Linked DNA regions of Homo sapiens: regions 2, 3, 4, 5, 6 and 7 are each linked to region 1. Evidence: promoter capture Hi-C in 16 types of primary human blood cells and fetal thymus (Javierre and others, 2016). All regions are on one chromosome and are shown on one strand. The core of a region is centred on a gene start or on the middle of the fragment in contact, and the rest is flanking DNA. Distances in the headings are between cores, read along the strand shown.

Region 1 (3,624 bases), core at 965-3,464:
CTTTCACTGTTCCACTGGTGCCCAGCAGGGTATGCAAAGGAGGAAATCAGCTGTGCTCTGAAAGAAGCACCATTCCAGTAAAGGGGAGGAAAAGGTCATCAGACTGCAAGGGCTCAACAAAAGTACAAGGTAAGGAGGCAGAGGGTGTGGGCTGATTATCAACTAAGAGGTTTGCACGGAAAAAGGGAAAAAAAAAAAAACAGAAAAACAGGGCCGGGTAGTGGCAGAAAGAGAGGGTGGATCTGTGACTGTTCGCAGGAAGAGAGGAGCGGGAGCAGGACAGACAATAACTGATAGTCAGGAGCTGGGTTTGGAGATAAAGAGGGAACAAGAGAAAGTTAAGTTCTGTGTTTTCATGGCAAACATTGCACAAAAGTTTACAACTTCGTGACTAACAGTAATCTGGGGTGATTCACAACAAATTTACACATAAACACATATTTACTGACTTTATACACAGCAATCCTAACGTGAACACAGAACCTGCTTTATCTTTTCGCACACTGTTCTAGTGTAGAGATGTCTGGTCTCAGTTAAAGAAAGCATAAGGAGCATTAGTTGTGCACACTGTCCACACCTGTGACTTTTTTCCACCAGTACTAAACCTAGTGCTTCTTACAGTACAGGACAATGACAGCCACAGAAAGAGAGAAGCTCCTTTTACTGTGTAATGCTTCCTGCTGGCCTTCAAATACTTGTTACTTGAGAGATCTCCATTCACCTGGCTTTGTCCCCAAAGGTCATCATCTACCAATGATGTTGTTATTTGATGTTAATCATGTATAAAGAAAGTAGCTACCATCCTGGCCCTGATTAGAACTTCCCACTGAAATACCGTCCTGCCTAAAGGTAGCACAGGCTCCCATTATGGTGGTGGTGGGGAGGGGGCGGGAATATATATATATATATATATATATATATATATATATATATGGTAAAGCATTCGGCATTCTTTTAAAGTACAACTATCCTTGAAAAGGGTTACATATTAAACCATTTTTACCACAGCCAAAGGGGAGGAGAAAGATCCAAAAGTCCTGTGGATCTGCTTTAACATCAATAAAACAGTTATCCACCCTTCGTAGCTTTTAGTGAAGGCTACAAAAGTATGCTTTTTATGGATTACACATGTGCACGCAACTACTTTAATTACTACAGAAAAAAACGAGGCTCCTTATTAAAAAAAAATCAGAAACAAGTCCAACAGACTCTGAGGAAATGAAGCAAGAGTGAATTCTGAAAAGGTCTAATAAACAGTATGGAAATATCCTTGTGGGATTGTTCTTCAGCTATGCATAAACATGTAATTATCATCATTACTGTGATGGGGAAAAACACGGACCCTAATTCTGAAACACCCTGGTAGCGAGAGACGGGCAGGAGGGGCTGCTGCGCACTCAGAGCGGAGGCTGAGGAGGCGGCGTCCCCTTGCAAAGGACTGGCAGTGAGCAGATGGGGACACTCGAGCTGCCCCGCGACCTGGGCCGAGCTGCCTACAACCTGGGCCCAGGTGCCTGCAAGAATTAGACCTCCGATAACGTTAACACCCACTTTCTCACTGCTCTAATTGTGTGCATCCCGGCGCCCAGGGGCTTGTGAGCAGCAGGTGCGCGTTCCAGGCAGCTCCAGCGACCCTTAAACCTGACCGCGCGCACGTCCGGCCCGAGGGAGCAGAACAAGAGGCACCCGGACCCTCCTCCGGCCAGCACCCACCTTCACCCAGTTCCGTCAGTCGCCACCACCTCCCTTCCCGCGTCCGCAGCCGGCCCAGCTGGGGAGCATGCGCAGTGGCCGGAGCCGGGTTGCCCGCGCCCCAGCAGGTAGCTGTACTGCAACTGTCGGCCCAAACCAACCAATCAAGAGACGTGTTATTGCCGCCGAGGTGGAACTATGGCAACGGGCGACCAATCAGAAGGCGCGTTGTTGCCGCGGAGCCCCCTGCCCCGGCAGGGGGATGTGGCGATGGGTGAGGGTCATGGGGTGTGAGCATCCCTGAGCCATCGATCCGGGAGGGCCGCGGGTTCCCTTGCTTTGCCGCCGGGAGCGGCGCACGCAGCCCCGCACTCGCCTACCCGGCCCCGGGCGGCGGCGCGGCCCATGCGGCTGGGGGCGGAGGCTGGGAGCGGGTGGCGGGCGCGGCGGCCCGGGCCCGGGCGGTGATTGGCCGCCTGCTGGCCGCGACTGAGGCCCGGGAGGCGGGCGGGGAGCGCAGGCGGAGCTCGCTGCCGCCGAGCTGAGAAGATGCTGCTGTCCCTGGTGCTCCACACGTACTCCATGCGCTACCTGCTGCCCAGCGTCGTGCTCCTGGGCACGGCGCCCACCTACGTGTTGGCCTGGGGGGTCTGGCGGCTGCTCTCCGCCTTCCTGCCCGCCCGCTTCTACCAAGCGCTGGACGACCGGCTCTACTGCGTCTACCAGAGCATGGTGCTCTTCTTCTTCGAGAATTACACCGGGGTCCAGGTGAGCCGCCTCCCGCTCCCGGGTCTCGGCGTCCACCCGAGCTCCCGGGGGCGCGGACCTCTCCGCTCCCCCACAGCTGGCGAGGGTCACCCGGCCGGCCCGGCGGACCCAGCACGGAGAGCACGTGCCGCCTCCCCGCCTTCCTCTCCGCATGCTTCCTGCCGTTCTGCCGAGATCGCTCTCTAGGAAGCTGTGGCTGCGTCGTCCTGAGGCTACGAGTGGGACCCGCCGCCCCTTTCCCCGCCCCTCGCCTGGGTCTGATGCTGCTTAGCAAAGTGGGTGCAGATGCACGTTTTAAATAATAGGGCACGCGTTTAGCAGTTTCTGGCCTTTGGTCCAAAGAGGTGGTCATGTTGGAACAGATCGGAGACGTCTACACTCCGAAGTGCGCTTTTACAGTGACCTCTTGAAACAGAAGTACAATTCGGTCTTGTGTTCTTTCCCCTGGACAAGTGAAAGCTGGGCGAAGAAATGAATACATTTGTTAACCGTAGAAGCCTAACTAGATACATTTCTTGCCAACTTTAACTGGGCTTGAATGTGTGGGTGATCTGTTGTCTGATTACTTTCTTTCTGTTACTGTTTCTCTGTAGAGATTGGATTCGTAGATTAAACTTGAGAAACAAACCATAAAAGTGGAAGGCCCTCTTTAACAGTAGGTATTTGAAGTGTTATAAAAAAAAAAAAAAGGTGAATTTTTCTTTTATTTCTCAGTTTGAAAGAACAGCTTTATTCTTGGTTATTCCTAATGTCCACCTAGTCCTCTTTTACTTTTCTTGGTAGGGTTAGGGTGGCATGGGGAAATGGGACGGTATCATTTTGTCTTTTTAACTTTTTTTTTTTCCACCTACAGCAGCTGTTTTTACCCTGTGGTCAGTCAGGTACTATATTTAGTTTGCAGTTGCACTGCTGATCGACCCTTGATGGCCCCAGTTGGAAGTTGTTTGGGGGGAAGGAACTAGGAGAGGCCAGGGCCTCCATTTAAACCAGTGTCTGTAAGTGTCTCCTTGGAAAGAAAAAAAGATACTGTTCCAGGTCATGGTTTCCTGGTAGTTGACGTTTAAAATGGGCCTCATTTAAAAATTTCAATAATTCAGGCTAATTTTTTCCCTTTATATGGTAACTCCACCAAGTTTGTCTAAATGTATGATTTTTATCATGATT
Region 2 (3,908 bases), core at 244-2,743, 420 kb before region 1:
TGTATTTTTAGTAGAGGTGGGGTTTCACCATATTGGTCAGGTTGGTCTTGAACCCCTGACCTCAGGTGATCCATCTGCCTCGGCCTCCCAAAGTGCTGGGATTACAGGTGTGTGCCACCGCAACCGGCCTATAAAGTATTTTGCATTGTTAATCTTGTTGAAGTTTATTGATTCCACAATGTGCATTGAGTGCTTAGTAGGTGCTAGTTATGGTGCAGGCAAAAGACCAAAAAACGATACTGTAAAGGGCTCGCATTTGCCAGGGATGTGACCAACTCCTTCAGGGTGAGTCTGGTGATCCTCGCAGCAGGAGTGGGGAACGAATGAATTCTGCCGTGGCTGTCCTAGGAGGCTTAATGGAGTGAGGGTCTCCGAGTGCACTAAGGTTAGCCATAGAGAGAAAAGATGAGGAAAGACCTTCCAGGCTGGAGGAAGAGCCAGAGCAAAGCCCAGAGGCCCACAGGAGCTGGGCATTGTGGGAAACAGAAAGTGGCTTTGTGTCTATAGCAGTGGCTACAGTGGAGGGCACAGAGAAAATGTGGCCAAAAAAAAAAAAAAAAGAAGAAAGCTTTGACAGTCTCACTCAGGATTCTGGACTTTGCCTAAGTCTAATGGCAATTGAGAGCCATCAGGAGATTTTAAGCAGGAAAGAAACGTGATCAGATTAGGGTTTGAGAAAGACGGCTCTCTCAGCAGTGCAAAACCTGGATTGAAGTGGGGAGAAACTGGTGTGAGAGCCAAGATAAATCTGAGCCTCTGCAGACTTCTCCACCTTCCTGCGTAGACCCTGAAATGTGTCTTTAATGGATTCTATAAATTTCCACACAAGGATAACAACCTAGTGAAAATTATAGCATCTGTATCCACCAGTTTAAACTCCATTATTATAACCATCCAGGGCAACATGTGTTATGATTTCAAACAAAGAGGTTACCATTGATACACAAGGCAGGTCGTGGAGCTCACTTATCGGAGATGCTCAAGGTTTTAGTAATAACGCATTCCTGACAGCAGCAGCAGGGCGTTTAATCAGAATGATCTTCCTTCCTTTCTCCTTTGGGACTACATCCCTCCCACTCCAAAAGTGCCCCTTTAAGGCTAACATTCTTGCTGATTCTGACTGTTCATGCAAAGTGTATTTCTAACTAAAATGCTTAAGTGTTACAATAGCTGCTTTTTTGGTTTTTGTCTTTTGTTTTGGGGCGGTTGAAATTTATCCTGGTAATGGTTGCAGAACATCATATTTTCTCTTTCTACCTATTTCCACATCATTTGCCACTGTTTCTTTTTTTATTTTATTTTTATTTTTGAGATGGAGTCTTGCTCTTGTCACCCAGCCTGGAGTGCAATGGCACGATCTTGGCTCACGGCAACCTCCGCCTCCTGGGTTGAAGCGATTCTCCTGCCTCAGCCTCCTGAATAGCTGGGATTACAGGTGCCCATCACCACACCCAGCTAACTTTTGTATTTTTAGTAGAGATGGGGTTTCACCATGTTGGCCAGGCTGGTCATGAACTCCTGACCTCAAGTGATCCACCCGTGATGGCCTCCCAAAGTGCTGGGATTACAGGCGTGAGCCACCATACCCAGCTTTGCAACTATGTCTATAGCCACCCTTCACATGCTTGCGTCTAGTCTGCAAGCTGACATCTCCTTTGTGCCCCTGACTTACTGCCTTTTGTGATTATTCCTTTTATATTATGCCTCCCCCACTAGAGTTCTCCAGAGAAAAAGAGCCCATATGGATATAGAGGAGGCAATTTATTATGAGAACTGGCTCACATGATTCTGGAGGCTTTGAAGCCCTGTGATCTGCCAGCTGCAAGCTGGAGGAGACCCGGGAGAGCCAGTGGTGTAATTCAGTCCAAGTCCAAAGGCCTGAGGCCTGGAGGAGCCAAGGCTGTGAGTCCCAGAGTCCGAAGGCCCAGAAATCAGGAGCTCCAACATCCAAGAGCAGGAGAAGATGGATGTCCCATTTCAGATAGAGAGAGTAAATTCTCCCTTCTACTTTTAAACCCTCAACAGATTGGATGAGGCCCACACTGATGAGGGTGGGCCTTCTTCACTCCATCTACTGATTCGAATGCTACTCTCTCATGGAAATACCCTAACAGACACACTCAGAAGCAATGGTTTGCCAGTTATCTGGGCATCCATTAGCCCAGTTGAGTTAACACATAAGATTAACTGTCACATTCTCCTACCCGAGTCTTCCTTTCTGTGGCTTAAGGAGTATGGCCCCACTCACCCCTCAGTGTCCAGGGATGGTCCCATATTCCCAGCTTGACCAATATGCGTACTTTCCCCCAGACACAGTGGCCATTCAGGGACAGCCAGTTGACCATAATTAGGCCAATAAGACTCATTCCTGGGATTCCTGGAGATTCCGGAAAAGAGATGCTCCCTTTCCTGAACCTGCAAGCTTTAAAGCCATGAGCTGCCAGGGGCTCTACATGGAACCTGAGAAGGAAGCACATCTCCAGAGACAGAGAGCTGACATAGAAGGAAGGACAAAGAAGGTTCTCGGGAATTGTTTGAGCAATGGGGCTTGACTGTTACTACTGCAAGGAACTCTGAGTTCCAGCACTTCTTGTTTTCTTCCCTTTAGCAAGTCTGAGTTGGGTTTTCTGCACCTGCACCTAAAGAGTTGCAACCAGCATCGCAGGCGACATCTCTGGTTCCTGGAGGTCTGGAAGCAGTGCAGAGGGAAGCGTGGGAACTCACAATTCCACTTGGTCCTATGAGTCACTAGCCCTATCTCCACAGCCTCTCAAAAGGTACATGATGCAAATCCCTCCCCACAAATCTTCATCACCGTGTTCTCATTCATTCATCCCATTAATATCTTCAAGCTCTTCTTGTGGGTCAAATGAGGTAGTTATGTTAAACTCTAATTTGAGACCACACAAGTTGAATAAGGAAACTGAAACTATTCCAGGTTTTGTACAAGATTGTAACGCTCACAAATTATGAAGGTAGAATCGACAAGTGTTGAATTCTCTGCCCTATGACATTGCCAAGTGAAGACATGTTTCTCACCCTCATAGTCCTCCCGAAGAACTGAACACATAAACACAACAAGTGACTACACCGTAATGAGAAATAGAATAGTGATAAACAAAATTCCACCGGAGCATAGGGAAACACCGGGAAGCATTCTGGGAGATCAGTGGTCAAAAAAAAGAAAAACCGTCAGAAAGGAGGTTTTGGGTGCCAAAGAGTGAAGGAGAGCATTATGTAGGAGAGAGTGGAGAATGCATTGCAAACAGAAAGACCCACTTAGCAATGACTGGGAGGGGTAAAGAAGGCCACATGCACTAAATGTGGCCCGGTGCCTAACACAGCTCAGCCTGGGGGTGAGGTTTGGGAAGGTGAGCTGTGAGGCTAAGAGAAGGTGTCAGTAGACATTAGGAGAGGTCTGGAATGCCACACAGGCACATGTGCCCTTAATCTCTAAGGAGATGATCCCTTAAAACTCTCAAAGCAAGAGATTGGTGCGATCAGATCTCTCTCCTCATCAAAGGAGCTTTCAGATTAAAAGAGACGCCCATGGGCCGGGTGCGGTGGCTCACACCAGTAATCCCAGCGCTTTGGGAGGCCGAGGCGGGCGGATCATGAGGTCAGGAGATCGAGACCATCCGGGCCAAGATGGTGAAACCTCATCTCTACTAAAAATACAAAAATTACCTCGGCATGGTGGTGGGCACCTGTAGTCCCAGCTACTCCGGAGACTGAGGCAGGAGAATTGCTTGAACCTGGGAGTGGAGGTTGCAGTGAGCCGAGATTGCACCACAGCACTCCAGCCTGGCAACAGGGCAAAACTCCATCTCAAAATAGATAAATAAATGAATGAAATGAAATCAAATAAAAGTGACACACATCAACGTGGTGCAGAAGAAAGCATGTAC
Region 3 (3,956 bases), core at 726-3,225, 330 kb before region 1:
TCTGAAACGCCCCAGTATGTATTGTTCCCCTCTATGTGAGAGCTAAATGATGAACATTTTTCATCCTTATCTTCGTTGACCCTTCCACATCTGAAATTGTGACCTCCTCCCTCTCTGTGAAACAGAACCTTCTCTTGCCTTCCTCACCACCACCCTTCTGGTTTGCTTCCTACCTTCCTGGCTACTCCCTCTTACAATCCCTTGCCTATTATACCTCCTCCACCTCACTCATAAAGTTTGGAGCCCTTCAGAGCTCTGTTCTAAGTGGCTTTGCCTTTTCTTTTCTCATCATTCAATAATGCAACAAAATTTAGTGAACCTCTGTTATTCACAAGCACTTACGAGGCTTGGGTACCCTGCAGTGAGCAAGAGAGGTGAACATTGAGTAGATAATGACATGAGGAAGAGCCAAGACGGGAGGTTGGAGAATCCATGAGGAAAAAGTCATGCAGTGCCTCACGGGCTGCAGTAAGGATCTGCATATTCCTTGAGGATAGCATAGTCATTGAGGGACGTTAAACAGAGGAGTGATGTGATCTCATTTGTGTTTGTATAAGTCCACTCTGGCTACAGCAGTAAGAATAGATTGGGGTTGGGAGTGGGGACAATCACCATCATTCTTGGTCAGGCTTACTTTGAGACAGAGTCTTCCTTGTCACCCAGGCTGGAGTTCAGTGGCACAATCTTGGCTCACTGCAACTTCCACCTCCCAGATTCAAGCGATTCTCCTGCCTCAGCCTCCCGAGTAGCTGGGATTACAGGTTTGCACCACCACACCCGGCTAATTTTTGTACTTTTAGTAGAGACAGGGTTTCACCATGTTGGCCAAGCTGGCCTCGAACCCCTGACTTCAGATGATCTGCCCACCTCAGGCTCCCAAAGTGCTGGGATTACTGTCTCCCCAGATAGTTTTGGCGTTAAAGTATATTGAAGGATGGTAGTCACTGAATATTTCACATGCTAGTCTTGTGGTACAAAAATATAAATATATACTCCAAGGTCATGAACTAAATGAAAATACTAATAGGCAGGGGTTAGGGACTGATTTGTGTCTCCTCCCGCATCTTGTATGTTGAAGACCTAACCCCAATGTGACTGCTTGGAAATGGGACTTTTAAGGAGGTAATTAAGGTTAAATGAGGTCATAAGGGTGGTCTGTAATCCAATGTGTCTAATATCAGGACCTGATTAGATTGAACTTTCATAGTCTCCATTCTGATAATTTCCTCATTAATTTTATAACCAGAGGTCACGTGCTGTGGCTCACACCTGTAATCTCAGCACTTTGGGAGGCCAAGGTAGGCGGATCACCTGAAGTCTTGGGAGTTCGAGACCAGCCTGACCAACATGGAGAAACTCCGTCTCTACTAAAAATACAAAATTAGCTGACCATGGTGGTGCATGCCTGTAATTCCAGGTATTCAGGAGGCTGAGGCAGGAGAATTGCTTGAACCTGGGAGGTGGAGGTTGCAGTGAGCTGAGATTGTGCCATTGCACTCTAGCCTGGGCAACAAGAGTGAAACTCCATCTCAAGAAAAAAAAAATTTGTAACCAGTAAACAATTTTTGATTACAGTTTATTCAAACCAATAAAATTTTTGCTGCCCTGATCCTTTGATTAGAATTTAAAGGGGGTTGGCTGGGCACGGTGGCTCACACCTATATTCCCAGCACTTTGGGAGGCTGAGATGGGTGGATCACGAGGTCAGGAGTTTGAGACCAGCCTGGCCAACGCAGTAAAGCCCCATCTCTACTAACAAAAAATACAAAAATTAGCTGGGCATGGTGGCAGGCACCTGTAGTCCCAGCTACTCGGGAGGCTGGGGCAGGAGAATCACTTGAACCCAGGAGGCGGAGGTTGCAGTGAGCCAAAATTGTGCCACTGCACTCCAGCCTAGGCAAAAGAGCGAGACTCCGTCTCAAAAAAAAAAAAAAAAAAAAAAAAAAGAATTTAAAGGGAGTTTATATTAGCCTGAGTGTTATCTAGGCAATTTCTCTTCTAGAAAATATAGATGAAACCCACCACCAAATAAAATTGAAATTAAAAGAAAAAAACCCACAAATTTAAAAACACAGCTGAACTGTTCAGTGCTTCTGCCCCAGAAGAGAAAATGAAGATGGCCTTTCATCACTCAGGCAATCCCGCAATGGTTTCAGGGAAGAGCTCTACCTAGGGCACTGTTCAAAAGCACTTTGATAGTACTTTTTGATTCAGATTTTAAATTTTAAAAATCACCTAAAATTTTTCAATGGGATCATAAATACCACCTTCCTCCACAATCTCAAGGCAGTGTTTTTATTCTCTCTCCACTGTTTTTCTTTTAAATCTTTCCATTTCCTACCCATTTTTTGTTTGGCCATTTTCAGTACTTCAGAGCTGTGAGATTCAATGCTGCTCTCTGAGATGTCATTATTTATGTTATTCTTACCTGGTTGACTTGTTGTATCTCCTTTTTACTAGTGAATTGTTAAGGATTAAAGAGACCAAGAGGAAAGAGGCCAAGAAGACTATCAAAATACAATAACGGTATTTGTTTTCACATGTAATAGTAACATCCAGGGTTCTGTTTTATCCAGAGGATCCTTTCATTATCGGCTATTGAGACATGTGGAGAACATCTCCTCTTAAGAAATATTTTTAAACTATTAAATGACAAATTACCATATACCATTTCTGGGGATATATTCAAAATGATTGAAAGCAGGATTTTGGGCTGGGTGTGGTGGCTCACACCTGTAACCCCACCACTTTAGGAGGCAGAGGCAGGTGGATCACGAGGTCAAGAGATCGAGACCATCCTGGCCAACATGGTGAAACTACATCTCTATTAAAATACAAAAATTAGCTGGGTATGGTGGTATGTGCTTGTAGTCCCAGCTACTTGGGAGGCTGAGGCAGGAGAACACTTGAACCTGGCAGGCAGAGGTTGCAGTGAGTGCACTGTACTCCAGCCTGGTGACAGAGTGAGATTCCACCTCAAAAAAAAAAAAAAAGAAAAGAAAAGAACAGAAAAGAAAGCTGGATTTTGAAGAGATGTTCACACCCACATTCAGACCCCAACAAATTCCAACAGACCTGCAGCTGAGGGTCCTGACTGTTAGAAGGAAAACCAACAAACAGAAAGGACATCCACACCAAAGCCCCATCTGCACGTCACCATCATCAAAGACCAAAGGTAGATAAAACCACAAAGATGGGGAGAAACCAGAGCATAAAAGCTGAAAATTCTAAAAATCAGAGCACCTCTTCTCCCCCAAAGGAACGCAGCTCCTTGCCAGCAATGGAACAAAGCTGGATGGAGAATGACTTTAATGAGTTGAGAGAAGGCGGCTTCAGACGATCGGTAATAACAATCTTCTCTGAGCTAAAGGAGGATATTCGAACACATCGCAAAGAAGCTATAAACCTTGAAAAAAGATTAGACGAATGTCTAACTAGAATAAATACTGTACAGAAGACCTTAAATGACCTCATGAAGCTGAAAACCATGGCACAAGAACTACGTGATGCATGCACAAGCCTCAGTAGCCGATTCGATCAAGTGGAAGAAAGGGTATCAGTGATTGAAGATCAAATGAATGAAATGAAGCGAGAAGAGAAGTTAGAGAAAAAAGAGTAAAAAGAAACAAACAAAGCCTCCAAGAAATATGGGACTACATGAAAAGACCAAATCTACGTCTGATTGGTGTACCCGAAAGTGATGGGGAGAATGGAACCAAGTTGGAAAACACTCTGAAGGATATTATCCAGGAGAACTTCCCCAATCTAGCAAGGCAGGCCAACATTCAAATTCAGGAAATACGGAGAATGCCACAAAGATACTCCACGAGAAGAGCAATTCCAAGACACATAATTGTCAGATTCACTGAAGCTGAAATAAAGGAAAAAATGTTAAGGGTAGCCAGAGAGAAAGGTCGGGTTACCCACAAAGGGAAGCCTATCAGACTAACAGCGGA
Region 4 (3,988 bases), core at 34-2,533, 460 kb before region 1:
CCTGCCTTGCTGTAGCTCAAAGCATCACATCTCACTAGCTTTTTTTGTATTAGGCAAATAGTACTGAGCCTCAGTTTCTCCATACTATCTCCAAAGATGGTTGTGAAAATTAAAATGAGGTCATATGGGCAGTGACCCTCACACTGCCTGGTATATAAAGGGCACTCAATAAAAATTTCTTTCTCCTGGCATATTAGAGAGTGTGGCATGAACAAAAACAGCAGAGCACTTGTTAAAACCCTCAGATTTTCTCTTTTGTTGAGTAGACCTAAAACAGGAAACCTCTTGCTGGGTAACTTACTGAAACTTTAAGCCTCAGTTCCACATCTGTAAAACTGTGATAAAATTACTTCCTCATAGGAGGATTTGTAAAATAAAAAGATGAGATAACGCCTCTAGAATCTTTAACATAGGATCTGAAACATGGCACTTTTCAACAAATGGTAGCACCTGATAATGATGAAGCAGGATTCTACAACAGCTTTTTCTGGCTAAGCTTGGATTCAAATTTTGGGAGGGCAGACAACACCTCCACCCACCACCCCTAATATAGTTTTATACCTGTTGATATCAATGGCAGCTTTTTAATATATCTGGGTGAAAAGAATGCTACATAGATTTCTCATGGTTTTCCCATTCAACAAATCCAATAGAGCTGAAGTGTAAATAAGAGAAAAATACATTTAATTTATTAGATTAGTCATAATTGATCAATGTTGAGAAAACAAAGCATGGAACATTTATGGTTTGAGCACTATTGTCCTAAACAGTTTAAGGTGGGGAGCAAAAGTCAGAAAGGAATTTACAGGTGCCACAAGCCCCTATTTGATCATTTAGTTTGGCACGAGGGTTGCACAATCCACACATTCCTGCAGGTAAACAGTGCAAAGACAGATGTATCCATCTGCATGTATATTCTCCCCGGCCACATTGCTTGCAGGAATGTGTGCTTTTATCATCTGAAAATCCTTAAACGAGTCTGACAAACCATAGAATTACTTTAAACAAGTATCTGACTGCCTCCTAATGTTTGGAAATAGAAGCATAGATAAATGACTAAATTGGCAAAGAACTTTCTAGGGGAACATTGATTGGCTCTTCACCATCTTTCTACAACTCTTTAGGGAATGATCCTGCTGGAAAATGTTTGCAAAGAGAGTTTAAGAAATTTCTCCTTCTTCCCTGATTCCTCAAAAATCATTCATCACACCAAGGGCTGAAATAAAGGATGTTTTGGACAACTAAGAAGTCTCTGCCAGGCGCAGTGGCTCATGCCTGTAATCCCAGCACTTTGGGAGGCCGAAGCGAACAGATCATGAGGTCAGGAGATCAAGACCATCCTGGCTAACACGGTGAAACCCCATCTCTACTAAAAATACAAAAAATTAGCCGGGCATGGTGGCAGGTGCCTGTAGTCCCAGCTACTTGGGAGGCTGAGGCAGGAGAATGGCATGAACCAGGGAGGCAGAGCTTGTGGTGAGCTGAGATCATGCCACTGTACTCCATCCTGGGCGACAGAGCAAGATTCCATCTCAAAAATAAATAAATAAATAAATAAATAAATAAATAAATAAATAGGTAAATCTGTTCAGGGCTCTCAGCTCTGAAGGTTGTGAGACCCCTGATTTCCCACTTCACACCTCTATATTTCAGTGTGTGTGTCTTTAATTCCTCTAGCGCCGCTGGGTTAGGGTCTCCCCGACCAAACTGGTCTGGGCACTAGTTAGGCTCCCAGGGCTCAAATCTCAGGTCTGTCACTCTGTTCCTTGGACAACTTATTTAACCATATCATGCCCCGGGTTCCTTCTTCTGAAAAAAAGGCCAAGTCCTGAAGTTAAGCATGAATCCTAATCAGCATTTCCAAGAGTCCCTAGAACACAAGAGGTGCTGTGATTATGAGTCCTCACTCTGTTCTTCTGCCTAAACCACCTCCCTCCTACAGTGCAGAATCTCCTGGAGGGAGGTGATTTAGGAAGCAGAACAGAGTGAGAACTCTCTCTCTATCATTCTCTCCGTCTCTACCATTCTGTCTGTACCACTTGGAGCTCTGGACTCCCAGATGCATGAACGCAAGCTTCTGAGCCAGCTGCCACTGCCCTGACTCTCGTGCTGTAGTCAGGTTGAGGGCCAACCGGCCCTTCAAGCTCTTCTGCCAGGTAAGATTGCAGCAAGGCAGCCCTCATTGGACACCCCATCTGCTGGCACCTTGATATTGGACTTCCCAGTCTCCAGAAATGTGAGAAACAAATCTGTTGTTTAGAATATACCCAGTCCGCGGTATTTTGTTACATCAGCCTGAGTGGACTATCATGGGCACATTCGCATCTTGGAGCAATTGAAATGTCAGTCTACTCCATCTGCTTGGAAGTCAGAAGAGGACCCAGTGCAAAATAGAAAGGCAGGGGCTCTTGTTCATAAAGCAGGAACATTTGTCCTTTGCTCAACAGTCTCTACTAGTCCTGTGCTTATTTCCTATTTAATGTCACTCTCCTGGGGGCATGGGGATCTACATGTGGTGAGTGCAGACTCATACAGGTGCCTAGGTGCCCATGGAGTGCAGCTCACAACTCCTTGCAGAGGTGGACGCACCTGACCATGACCTCCCATGGCCTGGCGCAAAGGCACTAGAAGAGGTGGTAGGGTGGGCAGGGGAGAATCTGCCCTGGGGGAGGGAGGACAGTGCACCCGGCCAGCACCAACCACAACACATACTCCATTGCTCCATCAGAGGTCATCAACAGAACGCAAAGTCAAGGAAGAAACGAAGAACTTCAATAGGGCGACCACAAAGAATTAAACCAAAGTCCACAGGTCACACACTCTCAAAGCTGGTCCTGACAGGAAACTTGCTTTAGTTCATCCCTTTACAAAAGAATACCTGGTCTCATCTGAAATGTAACTCATCACTTGAGGCTGTGATAAGATTGTCACCTCCCCCAGCTAGTCCCAGCTGCCAACTGCCCGAGGAAGTCTCAATGCTGAGACACGGGAAGGGTTTTTGCACCTTGAACAAGGAGCATCTTGACTTCTAGTGCGTGAAAATGGACTTTCATCATTGACTGAACAAATAAAAGGGCAGATTCCATGATCAAAAAGCCAATATGCCACGCTCTTGCTAGAAAAACAAAGAGTTGTAACAACACAGCCATACAGATATCTAGAGAAATCAATTCACAAAACCTCATCAGCTAGTGTCCATACCGTCCTCAGGTTTTTATTTATAATGGGGGAATTGTAACAAAATCCACCTTCTAGGGTTGCTGTTAGGATTAATAAGATGAACACAGAGCTGAGCCCAGAATCTGGCATATAAAGCATTCAATAAGCAATAGCCAATGTGGTGATTATTATTGAGCGAGAAAAGCATATTCGGTTGCAAGGACATGGAAGGTAGAACCGCATTATCACACACAGACCAGATCAAAACACAGTGATACGAAAATTGTGTTTTGGATGCAGTGCAGAGGCCACTCAGTTCAGCACCTGGGTGGTCAGCATATCAGGGAATTCCTGTTAATGGGTAAGTGTCAAAATAATTCTGTGGTCACTATTAGGTTGGTGCAAAAGTTATTATGATTTTTGTCATTAAAAGTAATAGCAGCCGGGCAAGGTTGCTCAAGCCTGTAATCCCAGCACTTTGTGAGGCCGAGGTGGGTGGATCATGAGGTCAAGAGATCGAGACAATCCTGGCTAACACAGTGAAACCCCATCTCAACTAAAAATACAAAAAATTAGCTGGGCATGGTGGAGGGCGCCTGTAGTCCCAGCTACTTGGGAGGCTGAGGCAGCAGAATGGCGTGAACCCTGGAGGCGGAGCTTGCAGTGAGCCAAGATCACACCACTGCAGTCCAGCCTGGGGGACAGAGCGAGACTCCGTCTCAAAAAATAAATAAAAATAAAAAGTAAAGGCAAAAACTGAAATTACTTTTGCACCAACCTAATAATACCCCTACTTTTTGGGAACCACATGCTAAAAGTAAGTAGGGAT
Region 5 (3,885 bases), core at 33-2,532, 360 kb before region 1:
GGAAGACTATTTGTCCTCTATATAGTCTAACCACCACCCCAAGACCCCCTATCTTCCTCTTTAAGAAACAGGAGATAGGGCTGGAGGCAGATGGGCTGAAATCTAAAATAGGTTGCAGCAAATATTCCTACAGTCATAAAATATGCAAAAAGCATCCTTTAAATGTTAAGTATTTGGTTGACTCATATGACATTGCCGCTTTTGTAGACTAAGGACAGTGAAATACCAGTGATTTCTTATATTTTAACCTAAATAAAGCTGGCCAGGCTCTGGGGATACAGCAGAAAGTGAGGCAGATACAGCCTTTGCCCTTAAGGCAGGGAAAATGACATGAAGCTTTGTCACATGACATGTTATTAATTATGTTGTGGGCTCTGCCACAGAGCAGGTAACAGAGGAACTTTCCACTGGGGGTAGTTCTGGGATGGCTTCTCTGCAGACGTGACCTGGAGGTTTCATGCTGAATGACGAGCACAGGCTGATAAGCAGAGGCCGGAGGAGGTGGGGACATTTCCGGCTGAGGGGACCACCCCAGGGGGAGCTTGGGGAGCTGTGCAGTGACTACAGATAGAAAGATGGGGTTCATCAGAGCACCACACAGTTCCCTGGGAGGCAACCGCCCTCAAGTGAAACTCCCAATGAGACACTATAGAATTCTAAATATTTTATAATGGCATTTATCTCTAGAAGCAAGAAAAACGCTATGGTTGATGGAAAGACCAAATAGAATTAGATACGACGTCAATAACTTTGCATGGCACTAAAATGTCTTATGGAATTAATTTAGAGTTTACAAAATGGAGATTTCGGTTACACCTGATTTAGGAATTTTACCATTTATAGATGAGATTGTAGTGATTATTCAGATGCAATGAACAGAAGGGAAGAAGCCAAAATCAATCTTTCTAACAAGATTCTCTACACTGCTTGCAAGCTTTTGTGTTTCATCAAATATATATTTGGAGTTATTTTTCCTCCAGATGAATTAATTCTCCATTTCCTGGTTTAAAGTATTTCCTTTCCTGCTCAGCTGTCTCATCTCTGAGAGTGTTTTTATATTTCATCTGCATCATCAAGTATGTTTACCTAAAATGGGCCCTCTGACACAAATTTACACGTACCTGTTCCAAAATTCAGGTTCATTTTGGGGGTCAGAAGCTTTTCCTCTTTAGGAAGGCCACACAGCAAAGTGGTTAAATATAAAAACTAACAAACAGAAAAGCTGGGCTTTGGAATCCACAGGCCTGGTTCTGATTCCCACTGCTGTGTAACATGACTTTGTACAAGGCACTTGATCTCTCTGAGCCACAATTTTTGTTTATTTTAAAAAGGAAGATAATTTTAAAAATGTGCATAATAGAGTTTTTATGAGCAGTAAATGTCATAGTGCATATATTCACTTAACAGAAAGCTTGGCACGTATTGTGCTTAATAAACAGCAATCATCATTTTGTTCAATATTATGTGCAATTCATGATTTTCCTGAAGTAATCAATAATAATAACTTTTATTGAACATACCCTTTTAGGCCAGGCACTGCTTTGTAAATTTAACATATATCACCATATTATTTTAAATCCCCTCAAAGTTGATCTTATTTTTATCAGTTTGGGGAATGAAGTAGTGTAATGCAGTCTTCAGAGTACGGTTTTCAGAGCCGGAAGACCTGAGTTCCATTGCTGATTCTGTAATTTATTAATAGCAAGAACTTGGGACAGTCATTTAGTTCCTCTGGGTCTTTGTTTCCTCATCCGAAAAATGGGATACACTTATCAGCTTATATAGACTTTGTGGGAACTGACTGTGACATAACATGAAAATTACAAAGTACAGGCCGGGCACGGTGGCTCACGCCTGTAATCCCAGCACTTTGGGAGGCCAAGGTGGGCAGATCACGAGGTCAGGAGATCGAGACCATCCTGGCCAACACGGTGAACCCCACCTCTACTAAAAATACAAAAAAAAATTAGCCGGGCATGGTGGCGGGAGCCTGTAGTCCCAGCTACTCGGGAGGCTGAAGCAGGAAAATGGCATGAACCCAGGAGGCGGAGCTTGCACAAGCATCTGTTCTGCTTGCTGTAAAGACGCATCCAGGAATAAATATAGTCTTTGTCAGAAATTTACTTAAACTAGTGGAATTGGGGCAGGGCACGGTGGCTGACACCTGTTATCCCAGCACTTTGGGAGGCTGAGGCAGGCAGATCACGAGGTCAAGAGATTGAGACCATCCTGGCCAACATGGTGAAACCCCGTCTCTACTGAAAATACAAAAATTAGCTGGGTGTGGTGGCGTGCATCTGTAGTGCCAGCTACTCGGGAGGCTGAGGCAGGAGAATCTCTTGAACCCAGGAGGCGGAGGTTGCAGGGAGCCAAGATCGCGCTACTGCACTCCAGCCTGGTGACAGAGGAAGACTCCGTTTCAGAAAAAAAAAAAAAAGATAATTACAAGGTACAGCTCCTTATGCATAGTAAACATAAAAAAATCTTAGCCTGTTTTATGATTTTCACAAGGAAATTGAGGCTCTAAGAGAATAAGTAGTTTATTAAAGGCAGCAAGTGTCAACACCAAGATCTGAGGGCAGCTCTAAGTCCAAAGTCTGTGTTCTTTCCAGGAGACGATTTGAGTAAGTAACCTTGACCCCTGTTATTCTAAACACTGAAAAGCTTGTCTACTTGCCCTTGTCGGACACAAGTTGGCTAAATAGATTGTGGTCTTTCAGCTACCATATTCACTACAGTTATCAGTTGCCTTGTTTTCCCTAAGGGTGGCTACTTATACCTTACAAAATCATCCATCTGAACTCCAGGACTTTTCAGTAGCAGCTGGATAAGGAATGAGCCATGGAGATAAATACACAAGGATAAGAACTGGCTGCCCTCACATGAAATCCAACATCTTTATAAAAGTAATATGAACATGCTGAAAAAATAAGGGCTTTTCTGCTTATAAGAAGATACATTACATTCGAAATAAAGATTTTCTGCTTATTACTATTTTAATGCATTAATTAAAGGCAGGTCATTATTGAACACATTATCATTAGTTATTTATTTCAAAGATGCATATCGGTGGGCAGGTTTTGTGGTCCACAGTAAGGTTCTCTCAAATTTGAACTTGAGGTTAGATGCTATTTTCCCAATAAAATTAAAATGAAGAGTTTGTCATAAATAAGCCCAGTCATCTGGAGAAGGAATTACCCACCCTAATTGATCAATGTAGTCACTGGAAAGTGTTGCTTATTATTTAAGAAAAATTAGGTCAGGCACAGTGGCTCTTTCCTGTAATCCCAGCACTTGGGTAGGCTGAGGCGGGAGAATCACTTGAGCTCAGGAGTTTGAAGCCAGACTGGGCAACATGGCAAGATCCCGTCTCTACAAAAAAATGCAAAAATTAGCCAGGCTTGGTGGCACATACCTGTGGTCCCAGCTACTTGGGAGGCTGAGGTGGAAGGATAGCTTGAGCCTAGGAGATCAAGGCTGCGGTGAGCCATGCTTGCACCACTGCACTCCAGCCTTGGCAACAGAGTGAGATCTTCTCTCAAAAAAAAAAAAAAAAAAAAAAAAAAAAGGGAAATTATAGCTATCTTATCTAGTTTGCAGAATAATAATATTAGGAGATGAAGACTTAGAGTAATTTAGATATTAGCCACCATGCTAGATTCATTCACGTATCTTTGTTAATTAAATTTCCCCAACAATTTGAGAAGCGTCTTACTCTCACAGTAAAATGGTATACCGTATTGTATAACATATATAGGTGAGACAATCAAAGTGCAAGGAGGCTATGTCATTTGCCCAGGAGCACAGTGATGAAATTTGAATTGAAGTCTGACACCAAATCCCATATCCTCTCAATAGAAAAGTAAGAATTCGAAAGTTTCCAAT
Region 6 (3,932 bases), core at 1,206-3,705, 440 kb before region 1:
CAAATCAATGATCTAAGCTTCCACCTCAAGAACCTAGTAACAAATAGCAAATTAAACCCAAAGAAAGCAGAAGGGAGAAAATAACTGAGAGCATAGAAATTAATGAAATAGAAAAGCATTAGAGAAAAGTCAATGACACGAGGAGTTGATTCTTTGAAATTCAGTAAAATTAATAAACCTGTAGCCAGGCTGATGAGAGAGAGAAAGAGAAATAACAGGCTGAGGCAGAAGAATGGCGTGAACCCAAGAGACGGAGCTTGCAGTGAGCCGAGATGGCGCCACTGTAATCCAGCCTGAGCCACAGAGCGAGACACCGTCTCAAAAAAAAAGAAGAAAGGAAAAGAAATAACAAATTGCCGACAGCAGGACTTAAAAGGGGACTGTTACTACAGATCCTATAAATATTAAAATTATAATAAGGGAATATCATGACAGTAAGTTTCATAACATATGAAATGGGAAAATTCCTTGAAAGACACAAACTACCAAGGCTCAAACATAGATAACCTGAAAAATCCTACCTCAATTAAGGATATTGAATTCACAGCTTAATATCTTACAAAGAAAATTCCAGGCCCAGTTGACTTCACTGGTGAATTTCTCTAAAAAATTTGATAAGGAAATAATAACAATTCTCCATGTTTGTTCAGAAAATAGAAGAGAAAACACCACTTCCAAGTCCCTTATATGAGACCAAAATTATTCTGATACTAAAATGAAACAGATACAAGAAGAAAAAAAACTATAGACCATGAACAATAACCATAAAAATCCTTAACAAGGCCAGGCGTAGGGGCTCACGCCTGTAATCCCACCACTTTGGGAGGCCGAGGTAGGTGGATCATGAGGTCAGGAGATTGAGACCATCCTGGCTAACATGGTGAAACCTCCACTCTACTAAAAATACAAAAAATTTAGCCGGGCGTGGTGGCGGATGCCTGTAGTCCCAGCTACTCAGGAGGCTGAGGCAGGAGAATGGCGGGAACCCGGGAGGCAGAGCTTGCAGTGAGCCGAGATCACGCCACTCCACTTTAGCCTGGGCGACAGAGCGAGACTCCGTCTCAAAAAAAAAAAAAAAAAATCCTTAACACAATATTAACAAAATGAAGCTAGCAATATATGAAAAGAAAAATATACCATGACCACCATGACCAAGTGATATTTATCCTACGAATGAAAATTGGTTTGATATTTTAAAATCAAGCAATATAATTTACTATATTCATAGACTAAATTGCAAAAAAAAAGTGATTATATTAATAAATGTGTGAAAAGCACTGATAAATGTTGATATCCACTGATGATTAAAAACTCTCACTAAACTAGGAATATGAAAGAACAATCCAGAATTTTGACTGACTACTTACTGGTAATTGTCTATGTTCTACTACATCAAAAACTTAAATAAGGAAGCATAAGTAAACTACAAGTGTAATCATAAAACTTTGTTTTAAAGAAAGAATTCTTCATTGACCATCTGGCAGATTATTTTTTCTTTCCTTTAAAAACTTCCAAATCCTCTCAAATCTTTTTTAAATCACATGAGAGTCCTCAAAGACAACAGACAGCATGCAATAGACCATAAGTATGGGGCTCTGCTGGCCGACTATTTTGCAAAGCTGTCATTTATCTTTTCCTTCTGTGATCCTCACATCGTCTTTTTGTGTCATTGTGGTTTGGTTTTCACTCATTTGAGGTTAAAAATGCTGAGGGATTTTGTTTTCATTTTGAAGTATAAGAGACATTTATAGCTTTCTAAAAAAGACACCTGGTGACAATCAGGAGGTTTTCTTTAAAATTCTTTAATCAGGCCAGGCGCAGTGGCTCAGGCCTGTAATCCCAGCACTTTGGAAGGCCAAAGCGGGCAGATCATGAGGTCAGGAGATGGACACCATCCTGGCTAACTCGGTGAAACCCCATCTCTACTAAAAATACAAAAACAAAATCAGCCAGGCGTGGAGGCGGGCGCCTGTAGTCCCAGCTACTGGGGAGGCTGAGGCAGGAGAATGGCGTGAACCCAGGAGGCAGAGCTTGCAGTGAGCCAAGATGGCGCCACCGCACTCCAGCCTGGGTGACAGAGCAAGACTCCTTCTTAAAAAAAAAAAAAAAAAAAAAAAATCTTTAATCAGCTCAGAGAGTTAATTAGTCACTTGGTGACCCCACCCCTGTGGGTAAAGTAGGCCCACCAAGCATATATCATTAGCATATATTCTATTTCATTCAAAAACAATACTGATAGAGGAAACAATTATTCAGATATCTTAATTAACTCATCCCAGTGCTCCGATTTAAACACCAGATTATCACCTGGTACTTACACAGCAATTCAATTTTAATCTAGATAGGTATAAAAGTATACATAAAATAGAGGTAAACATACACATACACAATTAGGACATAGTTTTGAAATATTAATCAGACGATTTTTACTTTTCCACCATTTAAAGTAGACAATAATGGGAGGCCAAAGTGGGAGGATCACTTGAGGCCGGGAGTTCAAGACCAGCCTGGAAATCAGTGAGACTCCAGACCTCCATCTCTAAAAAATAAACAAATAAAAAGATAAAATGAAGTAGGCAATGAGGCTAGAGGCTTTGCCAAGAACACCCCCCAAAAATAAAAAGGGTGCAAAGTCTTGCATACAAGTATCATATATTGGTGTATTTCTTCTTCCCTCTATTTTCTCTCCATTTTTCTTCCAGGGCCTCAAAAAAATTTCCCTCTGGGCCCGGCACAGCGGCTCATATCTGTAATCCCAGCACTTTGGGAGGCCGAGGTCGGTGGATCACTTGAGGTCAGGAGTTCAATACTAGCCTGGCCAACACGGCAAAACCCCATTTCTACTAAAAATACAAAATCAGCTGGGCATGATGGAGCACACCTATAATCCCAGTTACTCAGGAGGCTAAGGTGGGAGAATCGCTTGAACCTGGGAGGCAGAGATTGCAGTGAGCTGAGATCCTGCCACTGCACTCCACCCTGGGCAACAGGATGAGACTAAAAAAATCTTCCTCTGGAGCTGCACTAGGGCTCCTCCCAAATTCTAGTTACTTTATTAGGCATTCATTTAACAAACTCGATCAGGTGCCTGCCATGGGCCAGGTACTGGGCTACAGAAGCAGACAAAACAAAGTCGCCTACCTTTTTGGAGTTTGCAGTCTAGATGAGCAACACATACAAGAGCCAGATAGGAAAGCATTAGGCTGCCGGGCGCGGCGGCTCAGGCCTCTAATCCCAGCACTTTGGGAGGCCGAGGTGGGCGGATCACGAGGTCAGGAGATCGAGACCATCCTGGCCAACATGGTGAAACCCCGTCTCTACTAAAAATACAAAAGTTAGCTGGGCACGGTGGCGCGTGCCTGTAGTCCCAGCTACTGGAGGCTGAGGCAGGAGAATCGCTTGAACCTGGGAGGTGGAGGTTGCAGTGAGCCGAGATCGCGCCACTGCACTCCAGCCTGGCAATAGAGCGAGACTCTGTCTCAAAAAAAGAAAAAGAAAAAAAAGAAAGCCTAAGGCATGTCATATGGTGCAAAGTACTGCAGAGAAAAATAAAGGAGAAAAGAGCACCGGAAAGAGGTGGGTGCAACTTTAAAGAGAACGGTCATGGAAGGCCTCCCTGAAAGAGTCACGTTTGACCAACAACAGGAAGGAGATGAGCGATGGGGCCATGTGGATGTCAAGGAAGAGAACAGACTACGCAACAAGAACAGCCTGTGCAAAGGCCGTGAGGCAGAAAACGGTCTGAGTTCTCAAAGAAATAGCAAGGACATCAGTGTGGCGGGGGAACATGAGCCATGGGGAGAAAAGCAGAGGAGAGGTTGGAGCCTTCAGAGGACACCAGACCGATGAGGCCCTGCAGCCCACATAAGGAGTGAGATGGGAGGGCACCAGCACATGGTGAGCGGAGGGCGAGATGACCAGGGAGGAGGGGC
Region 7 (3,918 bases), core at 294-2,793, 370 kb before region 1:
TTTTTTTGAGACGGAGTTTTACTCTTGTTGCCCACGCAGTGAGCCGAGGTCGCACCGCGGCACTCCAGCCTGGCGACAGAGTGAGACTCCATCTCAAAAAGTAATAATAATAAATTGGGGGAAATTAAAAACACGTTGGAACTAAATATTGAAGAAAATACTACGTAAGGAAGGAAGTTATTAATCAGAGATACATATTCTTTTTTTTTTTTTTTTTTTTTTTGAGACTGAGTCTCACTCTGTCGCCCAGGCTGGAGTGCAGTGGCACCATCTCGGCTCACTGCAAGGTCCGCCTCCTGGGTTCAAGCGATTCTCCTGCCTCAGACTCCCGACTAGCTGGGATTACAGGTGCGTGCCACCATGCCCAGGTAATTTTTGTATTTTTAGTAGAGACGGGGTTTCATCATGTTGGCCAGGATGGTCTGGATTTCTTGACCTCGTGATCCGCCCACCTTGGCCTTCCAAAGTTCTGGGATTACAGGCACAAGCCACTGCGACCAGCCTAATCAGAGTTAAATATTCTTAAGTCGTGTGTGTGTGTGTGTGTGTGTGTGTGTGTGTGTGTGCGCCCGTAAAGAAAGGGGTCTCAATATGTTGCTCAGGCTGGTCTCAAACTCCTAGGCTCAAGAGATCCTTCTGCCTTTGCATCCCTAAGTGCTGGGATTACAGGATTACATGCATGAGCCACCAAGACCAGTTGACCCTTGAACAACATGGAGGGTTAGGGGTACCAATCCCTTGGGCAGTCAAAAATGCACTTATAACTTTTGACTCCCCCAAAACATAACTACTAATAGCCTACTGAGAGGTGAAGCCAGCTGGACTTCCTGGGTCCAGTGGGGACTTGGAGAACTTTTCTGTCTAGCTAAAGGTTTGTAAAAGCACCAATCAGTACTCTGTAAAATTGCACGAATCAGCACTCTGTGTCTAGCTTAGGTTTGTAAACGCACCAATATGCACTCTGTAAAAATGGACCAATCAGCACTCTGTAAAATGGACCAATCAGCAGGATGTGGGCGAGGCCAAATAAGGAAATAAAAGCTGGCCACCTGAGGCAGCAGCAGCAACCCCGTCAGTCCTCTTCGACTTTGTGGAAGCTTTGTTCTTTCACTGTTCGCGATAAATCTTGCTGCTGCTCACTTTTTGGGTCCGCACTACCTTTATGAGCTGTAACACTCACCAGGAAAGTCTGCAGCTCCATTCCTGACATCAGTGAGACCACGAACCCACCGGGAGGAACAAACAACTCCGGACGCACCACCTTTAAGAGCTGTAACACTCATTGCGAAGGTTTGTGGCTTCACTCATGAAGTCACTGAGATCATGAACCCACCAAAAAGAAGAAACTCTGGACACATCTGAACATCTGAAGGTACAAACTCTGGACACACCATCTTTAACAACTGTAACACTCTCTGTGAGGGTCTGTGGCTTCATTCTTGAAGTCAGTGAGACCAAGAACCCACCAGAAGGAACCAATTCCAAACACAGAAGGATTAAAGCGAGCTGTATAAGGAGGAAGGGATCAATTCACCACAAAGATGATCACAACTTATGTGAACTCGTGTGGCCTTAACAATATAGCCTCAAAACATGGAATTGTTTTTGAAAACATTCCAAGGAAAAATGGTCAAATCTACAGTCATACTGAAGAGTTTAATATATGTCTCTTACCAAGTGATATAACCAGCAGAAAAAAAAAGATTCAAAAAGTATAAACAAAACAATAAACAAGCCTAATCTAATGAGCATATATAGAACCCTGCACCCAATAATTATAAATGAATTTTCCTTTCAAGTACATTATACAGGGAACAATTACAAAAATTGATCACATTCTTAAGTTGTTCATGAATTTTCGACCAATGTAATTGAGTCAATGTCATCCTGACCATGTTCGTTGACCATTAAGCAATAAAATCAGAAGCAAATATCCAAAAGTTCAACAAAAAAAAAGTTATATAGTTACCACTTAATGTCATTGCAAACAAAGCTTTAGGAGTCAGCATACTCCCCTTCTCCTCCTGGAAATCATAAAGAAGCAGCAAGGAGAACCAAAGCCACTTTTATAAACCCCATTTTTTTAGCGAAACCAGGAGACAGATATAACCCACAGACTACAAATTATCTACAGAAGCTTCCAAAAGCCACTGAAATGGGGCAAAAGTCACTCAAGAGGAATTGAAGACAACAAAACACAGTGGAAGTTAATCTTGTAAAACGCCAGCAAAAACATGCTCCCTGGGGGTGAGGGAAAAACAAAAGGCAACAACTATATCCCTTATTTGCAGCAACCTACCCTCGATTTGCAACAGTGGGCGTGGAAATGGTAGGGGCGGGGTGTCCTGTGTGGTTCAGTGAAACCAACAGCAGGGATAACACACATGAGTCATGTTTGTCTCTGTGACCGCCAGAATTCATCTTTCAAGTATAAAAATAACTAACAGTAAATAAACATACAAGAACTCAAGGAACATTGTTCCCATGAGTCTTCCTGAGGAGATTAATAAAGGATGAATCTCAGCCAACCAACTTAGGGAAATAACAGAAAAAAAAAATGGCTGACTATATAGAACTAAAACATAAACAACTCTAAAGTTTAAAGTAGTAGACTGTAACATGCATGTTATATTCCCTGACAGTGCAGAAAAGATTCGTTTAGTAGAAATGTGGCAGGAAAGTGAGAAGAAAGCATGGAAATTAGGATAAATTCATTGAATGCTTAATCCAAAATAGCCAGTTCTAAAATACAGCTTAGAGCTAAAAAAGTAAGTAAATTCTAAACATCCATTATAGTATTAAGACAATATGATGAATAATAATATTAATAAATGTAAAATAGGTGGTTGAGGAATGGAAATGGGGAAAAAAACAAGCTAATTTTATGATTCTTCTTAGAAACTAATAGATATTCTTTAAAGAAATAGAGTTCTGAGATAATTATATGATTATATAAAAGTAACCCTAAAATAAAAATACGAACTTTACTAATTACCCAAAAATTAAGAAAAGAAACAAAGCAAAGAGTTCACAGTTAACACTATATATATATTTTTTCTTTTTCTTTTTCTTTTTTTTTTTTTTTAAACAGACTCTTGCTCTGTCACCCAGGCTGGAGTGCAGTGGCGTGATCTCAGCTCACTGCAACCTCTGCCTCCCAGATTCAAGCAATTTTCCTGCCTCAACCTCCTGAGTAGCTGGGATCACAGGTGTGCGCCACCACACCCAGCTAAATTTTGTATTTTTAGTAGAGACAGGGTTTCACCATGTTGGTCAGGCTGGACTCAAACTCCTGATCTCATGATCGGCCTGCCTCAGCCTCCCAAAGTACTGGAATTACAGGCGTGAGCCACTACATCTGGCCAATACTATATTTTTAATATATTTCATTTTTTAGAGCAATTTTAGATCCACAGCAAAATTGAATGGAAAGTACAGAATTCCTATATACTTGACCCCACATGCTCACAGCCTCCCCCATCAAAATCCCTACACAGAGTGCTATGTTTGTTACAGTCGATGAAACTACATTGAAACGTCATTATCAGTCAGATCCCATAGTTTACATTTGGGTCACTCTTGGTATTGCACATTCCGTGGGTTTGGACAGATGTATGATGATGTGTATACACCATTATAGCATCATACAAAGCAGTTTCATTTCCCCCCAAAATCCTCTGTGTTCTGACTGTTTGTCCCTCCCTCCCCACTAAGCCCGGGCAACCCACTGGTCTTTTTCCTGTCTCTATAGCTTTGCCTTTTCCAGAATGTCTTGAGTTGAAACCATACAGGATGTAGCCTTTTCAAATTGGCTTCTTTCACTTAGTAACCTGCATTTAAGTTTACTCCTCCAAGTCTTTTCATGGCTTGATAGTTCTTTTGTGTGTGTGTGTGTGTGTGTGTGTGTGTGTGTGTGTG

What was found. Contacts are between HindIII fragments. The CHiCAGO score rates a contact against its expected background, and 5 or more counts as called.
Region 2: a contact is called between a fragment that was not itself captured here and the fragment with the promoter of AGPAT5 in region 1, in 1 of 17 cell types (monocytes). The highest score is 5.7, in monocytes.
Region 3: a fragment that was not itself captured here is called in contact with the fragment with the promoter of AGPAT5 in region 1 in 2 of 17 cell types (fetal thymus and naive CD8 T cells); the score reaches 8.5 in fetal thymus.
Region 4: a contact is called between a fragment that was not itself captured here and the fragment with the promoter of AGPAT5 in region 1, in 1 of 17 cell types (M0 macrophages). The highest score is 7.4, in M0 macrophages.
Region 5: a contact is called between a fragment that was not itself captured here and the fragment with the promoter of AGPAT5 in region 1, in 2 of 17 cell types (fetal thymus and monocytes). The highest score is 5.0, in fetal thymus.
Region 6: a fragment that was not itself captured here is called in contact with the fragment with the promoter of AGPAT5 in region 1 in 2 of 17 cell types (M0 macrophages and M2 macrophages); the score reaches 7.1 in M0 macrophages.
Region 7: a fragment that was not itself captured here is called in contact with the fragment with the promoter of AGPAT5 in region 1 in 1 of 17 cell types (total B cells); the score reaches 5.7 in total B cells.

The regions. Positions count from the first base shown.
Region 1 is chr8:6,706,428-6,710,051 of GRCh38, forward strand. AGPAT5 (1-acylglycerol-3-phosphate O-acyltransferase 5) reads left to right here and starts at 2,215. Exons shown (of 8, transcript NM_018361.5): 1 at 2,215-2,460. The coding sequence starts at 2,242. MCPH1-AS1 (MCPH1 antisense RNA 1) reads right to left here and starts at 1,782. Exons shown (of 5, transcript NR_125386.1): 1 at 1,714-1,782. RefSeq lists silencers at 1,969-2,308, 2,369-2,608. The HindIII fragment of the contact is 5,238 bases long and covers 1-3,624 here.
Region 2 is chr8:6,284,306-6,288,213 of GRCh38, forward strand. No RefSeq gene overlaps it. Among named protein-coding and RNA genes, the nearest start is that of MCPH1-DT, 120 kb to the right of the region's middle. The HindIII fragment of the contact is 1,854 bases long and covers 567-2,420 here.
Region 3 is chr8:6,379,495-6,383,450 of GRCh38, forward strand. No RefSeq gene overlaps it. Among named protein-coding and RNA genes, the nearest start is that of MCPH1-DT, 25 kb to the right of the region's middle. The HindIII fragment of the contact is 4,168 bases long and covers 1-3,956 here.
Region 4 is chr8:6,248,658-6,252,645 of GRCh38, forward strand. No RefSeq gene overlaps it. Among named protein-coding and RNA genes, the nearest start is that of MCPH1-DT, 160 kb to the right of the region's middle. The HindIII fragment of the contact is 1,578 bases long and covers 495-2,072 here.
Region 5 is chr8:6,350,392-6,354,276 of GRCh38, forward strand. No RefSeq gene overlaps it. Among named protein-coding and RNA genes, the nearest start is that of MCPH1-DT, 54 kb to the right of the region's middle. The HindIII fragment of the contact is 253 bases long and covers 1,157-1,409 here.
Region 6 is chr8:6,266,860-6,270,791 of GRCh38, forward strand. No RefSeq gene overlaps it. Among named protein-coding and RNA genes, the nearest start is that of MCPH1-DT, 140 kb to the right of the region's middle. The HindIII fragment of the contact is 4,880 bases long and covers 16-3,932 here.
Region 7 is chr8:6,332,572-6,336,489 of GRCh38, forward strand. No RefSeq gene overlaps it. Among named protein-coding and RNA genes, the nearest start is that of MCPH1-DT, 72 kb to the right of the region's middle. The HindIII fragment of the contact is 896 bases long and covers 1,096-1,991 here.